3 separate regions of the Homo sapiens genome follow, and regions 2 and 3 are each linked to region 1. Evidence: promoter capture Hi-C in 16 types of primary human blood cells and fetal thymus (Javierre and others, 2016). All regions are on one chromosome and are shown on one strand. Each heading gives the region's core, a stretch centred on a gene start or on the middle of the fragment in contact. The rest is flanking DNA. Distances are from core to core; before and after follow the strand shown.

Region 1 (4,375 bases), core at 445-2,944:
GCAGTAAGGGATACAGAAAATTTTAAATGTGAAAAACACTGGGGAGTAAAACTTTCCATTAGATTCTTCTTTTTTCCTTTACAGAATTCATAGCAGGCTGAGTTTTTGTTCAGGCAATGTCGGGAAAGAAATAGCCTTTTAAAAATGGAAATAGTCCATTTTATTTATTTAACAACCATTAATAAGGCACTTAATCCATGTTGTCTCTTACAAATGTTAACTCATTTCTCATAACCACCTTGGGCTAGGCACAGAGAGGCTTAACAACTTGCAAGTGATACTCTGCAACTAAATACAGGCAGCACAGTTGCACGCTCTGTGTTTGGTTAGGGGCAAGGACTCTTATCCCTTGAGCTGGGTTGTGTAGAGCCCTGTGCTTCAGGCAGATGCCATTCCTTTCTCCTCTCCTCCATCCTACTCCACGTCTCAAAGAGGTCTGAGACCAACTTGTAGAATCACACTTAAACCCTCTAAAACCTAATGACAAATCAAAATACATTATCTAAAACTAGAAAAAGGGACAAAGGTGTCAGGTTAAAAGACTGAAAATCCAGACGAGAAAAAAAAGTGCCCTGTTAATGTTTCCAGAGAAAGATCCCCCAGTGCTGAATACCAGAAAATTCTATAGTAAATGAAATGTGATTTTATGTGTGATCTGGTGTTTAAATGTCATCAGCAGGCAGCTGTTTGCTCCTTCAGTGGGAATGGTGTTTGCACACCAGGTACCTACTCTCTAGTGTCATTCGCAAAGACAGAACCAGAAACATTGAGCCCATGATCCTGCTGGACCCAGCCCCTCCACAGCTTCAGAGTGACAGCCAGTGTCATATTTCTAGATCAAATCTGAATCCCTCCCACTGGGAGAAGGTCTCCAGGGGATTTAGGAAGTTCCAACATTTCAGAGGGAGGAAGGACGTTATGCAGGATACAAAAGAAGAGGTCATGTTATACAGCCCTGGCTTCCACGGACACTAACACTGAATTCAAATTTTGACACTGATAATCTGTTGCCACCAAATGGAAAACGTAAACAAGGTATTCTAAGTGTGATTAGAGAATATGCAAAACAAGGAACAAGTAGAACATTCTTCTCTGGAATCCGAGACGATGGCTGTACTTTCACAGAGAGCATGATGTTAGATGTACATGAAATAACGCTAAACCGAAAATGAGAGAGGCAGAGACCGGGAGGTTAACATAGAGGATAGACTATATAGAGAGAGGATAGCTGAGGGAAAACTCGCCTGTCTCCGGGTCCCCAGCAAATCTGATAACTAAGGAGACAAAGCTCTCTTCCTCTAAAGAAGTCGTGCCTTTCCTGTCCTGGTTCTCACGGGTCCCCCCAGCTCTTTCCTCCAACCCTACCCCGTACGCGGGGGGTCATCGGGGACCTAAGGTCCCCCCTCACAGGCTGTATCTTCAGCGAGGTGGACTCACTGCCTCTCCAGGAATTTGGGGCAGAAAATGAATATCCCAAAGTCCCAGAGTGCACGGGGGTTACTCTGGAGGGCGAGGCGTAGGCGTCACCAGTGGGCTCCCCCTACCCGTATCCGACTCCACCCCGGGGGCGGGGCCGTCGCCTTCCTTCGGGACTCCGGATCGATCTGGAGCTCCGGGAATTTCCCTGGCCCGGCCGCTCCGGGCTTTCCAGTCTCAACCATGCATAAAAAGGGTTCGCCGATCTTGGGGAGCCACACAGCCCGGGTCGCAGGCACCTCCCCGCCAGCTCTCCCGCTTCTCGCACAGCTTCCCGACGCGTCTGCTGAGCCCCATGGCCCACGCCACGCTCTCCGCCGCCCCCAGCAATCCCCGGCTCCTGCGGGTGGCGCTGCTGCTCCTGCTCCTGGTGGCCGCCAGCCGGCGCGCAGCAGGTGGGTCCCGGCGCCCTGGGGTCCCCGGGCCGGACGCGGCTGGGGTGGGCGCCCCGCGCCGACAGCCCCGCTCAATCAGCGAGTCTATTCTTCCCTAGGAGCGTCCGTGGTCACTGAACTGCGCTGCCAGTGCTTGCAGACACTGCAGGGAATTCACCTCAAGAACATCCAAAGTGTGAATGTAAGGTCCCCCGGACCCCACTGCGCCCAAACCGAAGTCATGTAAGTCCCGCCCCGCGCTTCCGCTGCCACCGCTGGGGTCCCCGACTCTCCCGCTGCCCCAACCCTGTCCCCAGCCCGACCTCCTGTCTCACGGAATTCCCTTCTCTCTGCAGAGCCACACTCAAGAATGGGAAGAAAGCTTGTCTCAACCCCGCATCCCCCATGGTTCAGAAAATCATCGAAAAGATACTGAACAAGTGAGTTGTAATTTCCATATACACAGGCGACTGGAGCCGTTGGTCAGAAATACTGGCATCTGCCCCCTAAAAATAAAATCAGGGAACCCCAAGAGTTAGCTGAAGGACTAGAAATTGTGATTATTATTTTCACAATTAAAGTTGCCATTAAGGTTATTAATCTGCTCTGGTGCCAGAGGATATTTCAGTATTTCAGTGTCTTCCATTTCCAGGCCTAACCCCTGGGAGGGTAAATGTGGGTTTCTAGAATACTAAGTAAATTTGACTAACAATGCCAAAATGCCCCCTGCCTGTTTTGGGACGTTTACCTCAGTCCCTAATGGGCTTCAGACCTGAAAAATGCAATGTCTGGTTTGGGCACTTTGGGCCTGTAAGCCTTCTTGGTGAAGAGCAGAAACTTTGCAGTAACACCTTCAGTGAGTTCAAGGCTAGGATCCCTGTCAACGTTATTTAATCTCTTTGAGCTTTAGCAAAATAGGGTAGATAATGGTAGTTATTTCATAGGGTTGTGTGCAGCTTAAGGGAGATCATGAATGGACATTTCTAACCCAATGTGACAATCAGTGACCAATATGTTTTGGCTTTTTCAAACCAAGAATCTAGTTGAGTCCACAGCCACTTCTTTCTTGAAAAAAAAAAAAAAAGCATTCAGGAGTGCAAGTTTTCTGCTATAGAAGGCAGTGGGTACAGACAGACCTTCCCTGAGTGGAGGGCTGGGAGAGAGTCTGCATGGGGACATCCCTCCAAGCAACTTCAGAGTGACAGAAGAGCAGCCTTCCTTAGCACCTGCAACAGTAACCCTTTTCTCATCACAGGGGGAGCACCAACTGACAGGAGAGAAGTAAGAAGCTTATCAGCGTATCATTGACACTTCCTGCAGGGTGGTCCCTGCCCTTACCAGAGCTGAAAATGAAAAAGAGAACAGCAGCTTTCTAGGGACAGCTGGAAAGGACTTAATGTGTTTGACTATTTCTTACGAGGGTTCTACTTATTTATGTATTTATTTTTGAAAGCTTGTATTTTAATATTTTACATGCTGTTATTTAAAGATGTGAGTGTGTTTCATCAAACATAGCTCAGTCCTGATTATTTAATTGGAATATGATGGGTTTTAAATGTGTCATTAAACTAATATTTAGTGGGAGACCATAATGTGTCAGCCACCTTGATAAATGACAGGGTGGGGAACTGGAGGGTGGGGGGATTGAAATGCAAGCAATTAGTGGATCACTGTTAGGGTAAGGGAATGTATGTACACATCTATTTTTTATACTTTTTTTTTAAAAAAAGAATGTCAGTTGTTATTTATTCAAATTATCTCACATTATGTGTTCAACATTTTTATGCTGAAGTTTCCCTTAGACATTTTATGTCTTGCTTGTAGGGCATAATGCCTTGTTTAATGTCCATTCTGCAGCGTTTCTCTTTCCCTTGGAAAAGAGAATTTATCATTACTGTTACATTTGTACAAATGACATGATAATAAAAGTTTTATGAAAAAAAAGGCTTATGTGGTTTTTCAAAAAATTCTTCTTGACTTTTAGTTCTTCCCAGGCACCCAAGGTGTTATACAGTTAGGCTGCAGGTTCTATCTAAATCTGTGCCTGCTTCTAGCTGTCACTTCCCTTATATTTCTCTTATTCAAAACGGACTATCCGATGCTTTTAGAAAGTACATACTACCCCCCAACCACTTTGATAATTCTAATTTTGTATAACATTTAGCTGTTTTTCACATTGACCAATTTGTTATTCAAAACTAGTTCTTTACAAATTTTTGAATGTTATTGATATTTTAACATGGGCGTCTGCTAGATCTGCTAGATGCTTTTGGTAAACGGTTTCTCAAATACTTATGCAATTCTTTCCCGTTTAACAAGGTTGGGAGCAAAAGGTAGAAAAGTTGATTCTGCCTTAGAACTAAAAAGAATTGTGATATTAAAAAAAATGACCTATTGAGATACTGTAATGTAAAATATATGACAAAAATAGCACAAAAGACAGGTTGGGAGATAAGTGGGTTTAGACTATAACATATCTCTTCAATTGTTAGAGAAAGTATTAAGAAAAAAATTGTAGCAAGAAC
Region 2 (4,574 bases), core at 1,873-4,372, 280 kb after region 1:
CTAGAGGTCTTAGTTCTAGAGGGAGGAATGCTGCCACCAGGAGACACAACTATGATTTCATTAAACTGGAAGTTAAGATTGTCACCTGGCCACCTTGCGTTCCTCCTACCTCTAAGTCAACAGGCTAAGAAAGGAGTTACATTGTTGGCTGGGGTGACTGACTCAGACCATCAAGATGAAATCAGCCTACTACTCCACAATGGAGGTAAGGAAGAGTGCACATGGAATACAGGAGATCCCTTAGGGTGTCTCTTAGTATTACCATGCCCTATGATAAAGGTCAATGGGAAACTACAACGGCCCAATCCAGACAGGACTACAAATGGCCCAGAACCTTCAGGAATAAAGGTTTCGGTCACTCTACCAGGTAAAAAACCACAACCTGCTGAAGTGCTTGCTGAAGGCAAAGGGAATACAGAATGGGTAGTAGAAGTAGTCATCAATACCAGCTAAGAACACATGACTAGATGCAGAGATGAGGACTGTAATTGTCATGAGTATTTTCTCCTTATTTTGTCAAGAACATGTTTGTGCATGTATACACTTGACTAAGAAAATATTTTCATTTTCTTTTTTTTCTTTATCATGTGACATAAGGTTTATTGACTTCATATCAGCATCTAAGTGTTATTAACTTTATGTAATAGCATTTGGGTTGGGGATTGGTGTGTTTCCAGTTGCAAAAGGATAGCTGTACTATGTAAGGCATAATTAAGACCTTATTATTGTCTTTATTTGAAAATTATGTATAATTTCAGGAGATGTATATGAGTTCAAGTTGACAAGAGGTGGACTTGTGATGGTTAATATCGAGTATCAACTTTTGATTGGATTGAAGGATGTAAAGTATTGTTCCAGTGTGTGTCTCTGAGAGTGTTGCCAAAGAAGATTAACATTTCAGTCAGTGGACTGGGAGAGGCAGACCCACCTTCAGTCTGGGTGGGCACCATTTAATCAGCTGCCAGCATGGCTAGGATAAAAGGTGGCAGATGAATATGGAAGGACGAGATTGGCTAAGTCTTCTGGCCTCCATCTTTCTCTCATGCTGTTTGCTTCCTGCCCTTGGACATTGGACTCTCAGCTCTTCAGCTTTTGGACTCTTGGGCTTACACCAGTGGTTTGCCAGAGGCTCTCAGGCCTTTGGCCACAGGCTGAAAGCTGTACTATTGGTTTCCTTACTTTTGAGGTTTTGGAACTTGGACTGGCTTGCAGATGACCTACTGTGGGACTTCACCTTGTGATCGTGTGAGTCAGTACTACTTAATAAACTTGCTTTCGTATACACAATGTATCATATTAGTCCTGTCTCTCAGAGAATCCTGACTAATACAGATGGAAATCACATTGTTCTGAATCGCATATCTGATGGCTGGGCCAAAAGCTCATTCTATCTAGTAAAATGTCTGCTGTTTGCAGTAAAACTCTTATTATTACGAAAAAAGATATAGGAGTCATGTCAAACTGTGAAAGAAGAAAGGGAAAGATACCATAGAAAAGTCTAGGGTCTTGGTTAATGTTCTAATGGGCAGTTGGGGACTGGAGCCCCTCTAAGGGCCTTCTGGCAACACTGAGTAGTGACCTTGGCCAGTAGCCTACAGTTGCCCCAGGACTTTATTCTGGTCTGACACGAAGTCCAGACCCCCATGAAGGTAAAAAGAGCCAACATTCCTTGCACCAGGAAGAGAGAGGTAACAGGGTTGCATCCTGTCCCCTGCAAATAGCATAGCTCAGAGGAAAGTCTGAGGACAAGAAATCTTGGAAAAGAAGTGAAGAGAAAGATCCAGCTGATCCGCATTTACTCACCCTTCTTACATATCCTGTATAGGCCCCCACATGAAGCAGGATATTTCCCTGACCCCTTCACAGGACTCGCAACAGGGGTGCCTCATTTACTCAGCCAGCAGCTCTTAACTCCTTGCAGAAGGGTGTGCGTGAGTGAATGAGGCGAGAACTGGATTGCAGGAGTGCTGGAAACAGCTGTCCACTTCAGTGCTGGCATGAGTGAACTCCACTTACTCAGACTTACTGCAGGAGGGAGCACACAGGTGAGCGGGCAGGATTTGGGGTGAGCGCTTTTGGGTACTGGCAGGGGCAAACTCTGTGCAGGCCCCACAGCAGCAGCATCTACAGGGGGATGCCTGTGACCCTTGAAGCTTCAGAAAGCATGTTACAGTGCTCTTTTAGCTCTGCTGTCCACAGACAGCTTAAGTTTTAACAGCTCAGTGGGTCCTCTGCCTTAGACAGCCTTTTGTATCCACACTTATGGCTCCCAAGCTCTTGTTCAGCATCCAGGAAAAATGAGGTTGCACAAACGAATTGAAGGATGTTAAATGTGTGTGATTTTACTGCTGATGAAAGTGGCCTTCAGTGGGAAGAGGAGCTGAAAAGGGAACAGGGAAGGAAGATAATCTTCCTCTGAAGTCCAGCTGTCTCCGGCAGGATTCTTCTCCAAAGTTATGCCATCAAGCTGTCCCTTTGAAGTCCAGCCACTTCTCTCTGACATTTAGCTATAGTCCTCAATATCCAGCTGCTTCTCTGCTTTGCTTGCTGAGTCCAGGGTCTTTATAGGTACATGATGGGGTGGGGCAGGGCCATGGGTGGCTTAGGAAAAGGCAACATTTGAATGGGAAAACAGGGTTATAAGTTCTCACTTTGGGCTGTGGTCTCAGGGTTTTAGGCTTGAGGTTGAAGCTTCACCAGGGATCCGCCGTTTTCTGCCCAGAATTTCTCTGCCTCCTGTCCCCATCAGTAGCTTTTAGACAATCATTTTACTTTAGGAAAAAGTAAAACATAAGACTTTCTATTGTGAACATTTTCTAAGGTTTTTGCTCTGATAAACATTGGCTTTTGTTTTGCCTGTAGAGTCAAACTTTACAAGGAATGGTATGCTGGAGCTGGCTGATACTATGTCATGAGAGCGGATTATCAGACATTCAGAAGTTTTACCAACCATTTGCAAAACCATTTTTAGCTTGAAAAACAGCGTAGTGAAAATATTTACACCAAGGAAATTGTCAAATACTAAAAGTCAAAGCTTTTATTTTAGAGACACTTTTGCCAGCAGGCCATTGTCACAGGTTTTGTCTTCTTCTTGTGGCAGTCATGAAAATGTACCTCTGGATCCCTGACTACAAGGAGCATAATTGACTGGTGGCTCTACACATTTTGCTTTAAAATTCATCATTACTTTTGTCCCAAGACTAAGCTTCCCAAGCATTGCTCCTAACTGATAAAGAAGCATGGCAGAATACTAACATAGACCGCTTCCGGGGAGACGCAGGTTTCCTCTAACAGGTGACTTGGACTCTATGATTCCCCAGTGACCTTACTGAACTTCCCCTTGAACTGCACTGCAGTCCAAGATGTTCCACCCAACCTACATTCACTTCCCCCTTCACTCAAGGTTAATCCCGCATCGTGGTCTGATGTCTTTGTCGGCCTCTCCCAGCTGCCTCCCCATTTCCTCTCACATACACTTACTTTAATAAACTTCTTGCATGCCTAATCCTATCTTGATGTCTGCTTCTCAGAGAATCTGGACCAACTCCCACACATACGTTTTCAGCTGCACCTTAGCTTAGTGTTTCTAAATTGTGACACTGCCCTGTATTTTATAATCCCAATGCTTTTCCACACACATTCACCCTCAATCCTATCCCCAGGTCCATGTTCCATGATGAACTGTCTTTCCTGTTTCTGCACATTCTATGCTATACCTCAGAGAATGTTTACTCATTATTTTTAAAAGATTTTTATTGAATGTAACACATAACTTAAAAGTGCACGTATTTCAATCTCAATAAGAGTTTTTACAAACTGAACTAGCTCCCATATCAAGAAACAGAACATTACCAGTACCCTTAAATCCTACTCCATGTTCCTTTCTAATCACATCCTGTGTCTCTAGGGTTACCATGGTTCTGACTTTCAAAGGCATACATTGTTTTTGCCTGCTTTTGTTTGTTAAGAAATTGAATCATGCAGCATGTGGGTTTTTGTGCCTGGCTCTTTAAACTCAACAATATGCTTGTAAGATTCATTAATATTTTTGTGTATAATTATACATAGCTATTCTCAATGTTTCTGCAATGCTATATAGTATTCCATTATATGATATATCATATTTGATTTATATTTTTTATTGTTGGCAGACTTTTGGGTAATTTTCTAATCTAGGACCACCACAGAGGGTACTGCTATTAACATTCTACTACGTGTCTTTTTAGGAATATATGTGCACATTTTCTGTCGAGTTTACATAAGGGACTTACTGGGTCAAAGGTAATGTGTATGTCTGCTTTGGTAGATGCAGCCGGTTTTCCAAACTGTATTATTTACACTCCTATCAGCAAAGTCTGAGAGTTCCAGTTGCTTCACATCTTCACCAATAGTTGGAACTGTCTGGTTTTTATTTCAGCTATTCCAATGAGTGTGCTAGTTGTTCATCTGCACACAGTTGAGTTGGTATTTAGATGGTGTCTTAATTTATTTTCTGTTGATTTATAAAAACTGGGTAATTTATAAAGAAAATAAATGAATACTTATCGTTATGAAGGCTGAGAAGTCCAAGGTTG
Region 3 (4,573 bases), core at 838-3,337, 320 kb after region 1:
CATGCCTCTGCTGTGCTTAGCAATTTATTGTAGTTACATGTGCATGTATTTTGTCTGCTACTAGATTGTACACTCTGCAAGGACAGAAACTGTGTCATTTCAGTCTTCTGCCTCCTTTATCGTGCCCAGCATATGGCTTAGTGCACTGAAAAGAGTCAGACTCATTCATTCCAGGATAGATGTTGTTTTAGGAATATTGAGGTGGAAAGCTGATTACAAGGAAAATTGTGGAGAATGGGTATAATGTATGTTATCTGGGTGATGGGTATCCTAAAAGCACTGACTTTGCCACTACATAATCTATGAATATAACAAAACTACATTTATACCCTGTAAATTTATACAAATTAAAAAATGTGGGGAAATCTGCTATCAAAGTTCCCAGACCACTTCAATTGGATGGTTCACTTGTAGGACCCGGAATCCTCATTTTCTCTTCTCCTTTCCCCTTTATCAAAATCTATCTCTTGAATTGTCTTTTACAAGATTATAGAAATGATTTTTAAAAACTCAAATTGTTATTTCTAATAGAAAAATGTGTGTTTCAACAGGGGACAACTCCTTAAACTAAAGAAAACTGCAGACATCAGTCAGTGGGTGGAAATTATTTTTGACAAGGGGCATTCCCAGATCTCCTAAAGACACGACATAGACAGTTAGATGTTCCAATGACTTATAAGGCCAGCCCTGGAGTGACCCTGTACTGGACCACATGAGTCAAACTGAACTCATTCTTTTATTGAAAAAAAAGTTATTTTCAAAGTTCAGGATGAGCTGTCATTATTCACTGTAGAATACAGTGAGATTTATCATACAGATTTATATCTATGACAAACAAAGCTCTATTCTCTGGAATATAAAAAGTGATTTGCTACTGATGACTTTCACTTTTTCATCTTTTAAATGAGAATCCTGGCCAGGTATAGCAGAGAATATTTAACACTGTATTTTCTATGTGCCAGGAACTATCCTCAGCGCTTGCCATGTATTAAGTCATTTAATCCTCTCAATAACCCTATGAGATCAGTACTATTATTATCCCAATTAGCTAATGAGTACATTGAGGCAGAGAGGATATGCAGCTTGTTCAAGGTCCCATAGGAGTATATGACAGAGCAGGATTCAAACTTTAATATCAAATTCCAGAGCCTGCCTTCTTAACCACACTCCATGAGCTCCAAGGCTTTTCCAGAACTGAGAATCTACAAGCTTTTCTCATTTATCCATGATACACATCTGCTATTGCGTCATTAGCCCATGAAGCATTGTAATAAGGAAATTGCACAATACACAACACTAGCATAATGAAGAAATTATAAAGATACTGATTATCCAAGATTCAGCAATCTTCTTAATAATAATTATTTGAGAAAAAATTATCTAAATCTCTTTGTTTTCAGACTATTTTAAAGTTCTATGGTATTTGGATTCTGTAATACTAAGACCACTAATAAATAATTGTTAATATTGAAAGTTTTTTCTCCCTTTTGCTGATCCTTTCTCTTTTTTCCGAATGAGTAAATTTATCACACTAATCCCATTGTACATAAGATATAGCAATTACTCAATTATTGATATGTTTTGGCTGTGTCCCCACCCAAACCTCATCTTGAATTGTAACTCCCATAATTCCCACGTGTCATGGGGGGAACCTGGTGGGAGGTGATTGAATTATGGGAGCGGGTATTTCCTGTGCTGTTCTCGTGATAGTGAATGAATCTCACAAGATCTGATGGTTTTAAAAGATGGGAGTTTGCCTGCACAAGCTCTCTCTTTGCCTGCCACCCTGTAAGATATGACTTGCTCCTCCTTGCCTTCCACCCTGTTTGTGAGGCTTCCCTGGTCACATGGAACTGTAAGTCCAATTAAAACTCTTTCTTTTGTAAATTGCCCAGTCTTGAGTATGTCTTTATCAGCAGCATGAAAATGAACTAATACAATCACTTATTGTCATACCTAGGATTTGAGAACTATAGGTGTGTTTAGAAGTCATCTCGTCCAAATCCTACATTATAAGATTCTAATCTCCATTTTTAACTTGTACAAATGTTGTGTATTTCAAACCTAAAATAGAACTACAATTTGAAGAGTTGTAAATATTTGTTCATGTTTTTATGGGCAAGAGATTTCTACTTACAAAGTGAACAAAGATTCTAAATGTCAAAAAGGACAACATTTTTAGTGGCACAAGAGCTAACCTATGTGTTAAGACCCCTTTAGAGGGCTCTTATCAAGGAAACTCATATAAAATTTGGAATTTTATCTATGGACTAACCTAATCATTTGATCTTCTATTTCCCTTTGACTGAAAGATGTAGACTACAGTTTTCATGGTAAACCATTTATAAAACTTGATTATTAAAATCATCTTGTTGCGTGCTTAGCAGACCAGATAAATCTCAGTTAATAGACTCTGTCCTGCAATATTAAAGGCTGATAATTAAGCATATTAATTTATTTTACATAATTTATCCTTGCTTTAAAGCACTTCCCAAGTGGTCTAAACTGAGCAGGACTTCAGAAAATTGGGTTCTGAGCACTGGCTCCATTGCTTGCTTGCTCTGTGACCTTGAGAAAGCCGCTTAATCTCTTTGGACATCAGATTCTTCATCTACTAAACTAGTGGCTGGAGTTACACTCATCCTCTTTATCCCTTTCTGCAGCTGTCTTAGTGATAAATTTACAAATGGAACTTCAACAGTGTTGGTCTCATTTGAGGGATATGTCAGAAAAAGTAAATAGGTCCTTTAAAGTTCCTCAGTCAAACACCCACAAAAAGTTGAGATGTCTCAAAGTATAGCTATGATAAGGCCATGATATGCTTTGCCTTTGTGTCATCTCTCTCAAAAAACGTGAATTTTTTTACATTTCAGAATTTAAATTCAAATTTCTGATAGGAATATGTGCTTGTATTTAAAATCATAAAATCTTTGAGATATATGAGCTGTTACAAAACTAAGCTTCGATATGCAATTCTAAAGAATAACCATGTATTACCAAGAAAGTTTTCAATAATCTCTATGTTCAGTCCAAATATGATATTTATTTGAGCTACCCTATTAGGTCAGCTTAATGGTATGTCATTTTGACACTTCACTTTTTAACTCAGCATACCTTGACCAGCCTTACGAAAAAATAAACAAAAAAAAATGAATTTAAAAAAGAGAAAGATTACAATCTATCTAGTAGAGATTAGCTGAATGAATCCCCAGATTAGATATACTTTAACAAGCAAACAATTATTGCCAGCATCTTGAATTTTGAGCAACTGCTAAGAATATAACTAACGTGGCTCTAGGGAAAATTTTTATGAGCAATTCATTGTTGCTCTGAAAACATGTTTTCAGAATAGATTAACATAAGCAGGCACCATAATGTTTCAGCATCATCTTTAAAGGGGAAAATGATCAACACGCTCCAAATAATAACCAATTTTGAAGAACATTTTTTGAAAAGGGAGGTAATGCCAGAATATTTCATGGGAGACTTGAGGTACTTCTGTTTAGTAATAACATTCTTACTTAACTTCCTCAACTCAGGTTCACTTGATCCCACTATTGGTATCTTGTGATTATCTTTGGCAGAGTAGCCACAAGTTTGCCAGACATATCATTATCACATCTTCTTTCTACCTTTTACCTATGTACTCATAATAACATTGAAATATTGTGAAATCCTGCATCCAGGGTCAGGAAGATTTTCTTCCCCAATCTGTGAAAGATATGAGTATTAAGGATGATTTCTCACATTAGCCCATTCTCACATTATATAAAATAATTGCACCATTCAATTCCACAGTTCTGATTCACCAATAAATGAGAATCTTCCTTTTGTAATCCCTTTAGTAGTTCTTTGTAAATATCTGTGCTCAGAATAGTTCATACATATAATTTACTTCTCTTCCATCTTCTGGTGATTAGGCCAGGGTGTAATTCTAACCATTCTAGTCCTTCCACAGTGACTGTGTTAAAGGAGGAAATTGCCACAAACCACTGTCATTTTGCTAGAACACTAATACTCAAAACAATCTTTTAAATTTGAGTCAGCTTTTTTCATGGCTCAATGACTTCACATTTTTCTCTTTAGAAACCAAAATACTTACAAGGTAATCTACTCTTTAGACTTTCAACATCACATTTTCTCTGAGACAATAGTTTTCCTTCCTCCTTGGGTTACCACTAGATCATAACAAAATGACAGAACTGAAGTTATTATTCTTAAAAGAGACCAATAACTGGAAAAATGGAAACAATGCTTTCAGGTATTTAGGCAACATGCAGCAATGTGCAATAAAAATAACACAGAGTTTGGAGTTAAGTGCATTAGAAAAAAAATCCTAAACCTGCTGCCCACCATGTGACTTTGACCAAGTTATTTAATCTGTCTTCTCCCCAAGTTTCTCATATATAAATTGGGGCTAATAATTACTACTTCCCGGACTGTTTTGAGAACTGAACAAGACAGCATAGGCAAAAATATTTAGTTAAGTGTTTGGTCTACTATATGTGGTCAGAAATATCTCAGTTTCCTCAGTCAACATAGAAATATCAAACTCTATGGAAATTAAGAGAGT

Evidence for each region. The method cuts DNA at HindIII sites, captures the fragments that hold promoters and counts their contacts. A CHiCAGO score of 5 or more calls a contact.
Region 2: a contact is called between a fragment that was not itself captured here and the fragment with the promoter of CXCL3 in region 1, in 1 of 17 cell types (M1 macrophages). The highest score is 5.9, in M1 macrophages.
Region 3: a fragment that was not itself captured here is called in contact with the fragment with the promoter of CXCL3 in region 1 in 7 of 17 cell types (M0 macrophages, monocytes, M2 macrophages and 4 more); the score reaches 11.8 in M0 macrophages.

What each region holds. Positions count from the first base shown.
Region 1 is chr4:74,036,008-74,040,382 of GRCh38, reverse strand. CXCL3 (C-X-C motif chemokine ligand 3) reads left to right here and starts at 1,694. Exons shown (of 4, transcript NM_002090.3): 1 at 1,694-1,871; 2 at 1,970-2,093; 3 at 2,207-2,290; 4 at 3,106-3,794. The coding sequence starts at 1,772. The coding sequence ends at 3,121. It overlaps LOC105377275 (a long non-coding RNA gene), which reads right to left and starts at 1,438. Exons shown (of 2, transcript XR_938875.3): 1 at 1-1,438. The HindIII fragment of the contact is 4,426 bases long and covers 1-2,234 here.
Region 2 is chr4:73,761,405-73,765,978 of GRCh38, reverse strand. No RefSeq gene overlaps it. Among named protein-coding and RNA genes, the nearest start is that of CXCL8, 23 kb to the right of the region's middle. The HindIII fragment of the contact is 171 bases long and covers 3,037-3,207 here.
Region 3 is chr4:73,718,266-73,722,838 of GRCh38, reverse strand. INKILN (inflammatory MKL1 (MRTFA) interacting lncRNA) reads left to right here and starts at 1,769. Exons shown (of 3, transcript NR_185098.1): 1 at 1,769-1,855. The HindIII fragment of the contact is 1,751 bases long and covers 1,212-2,962 here.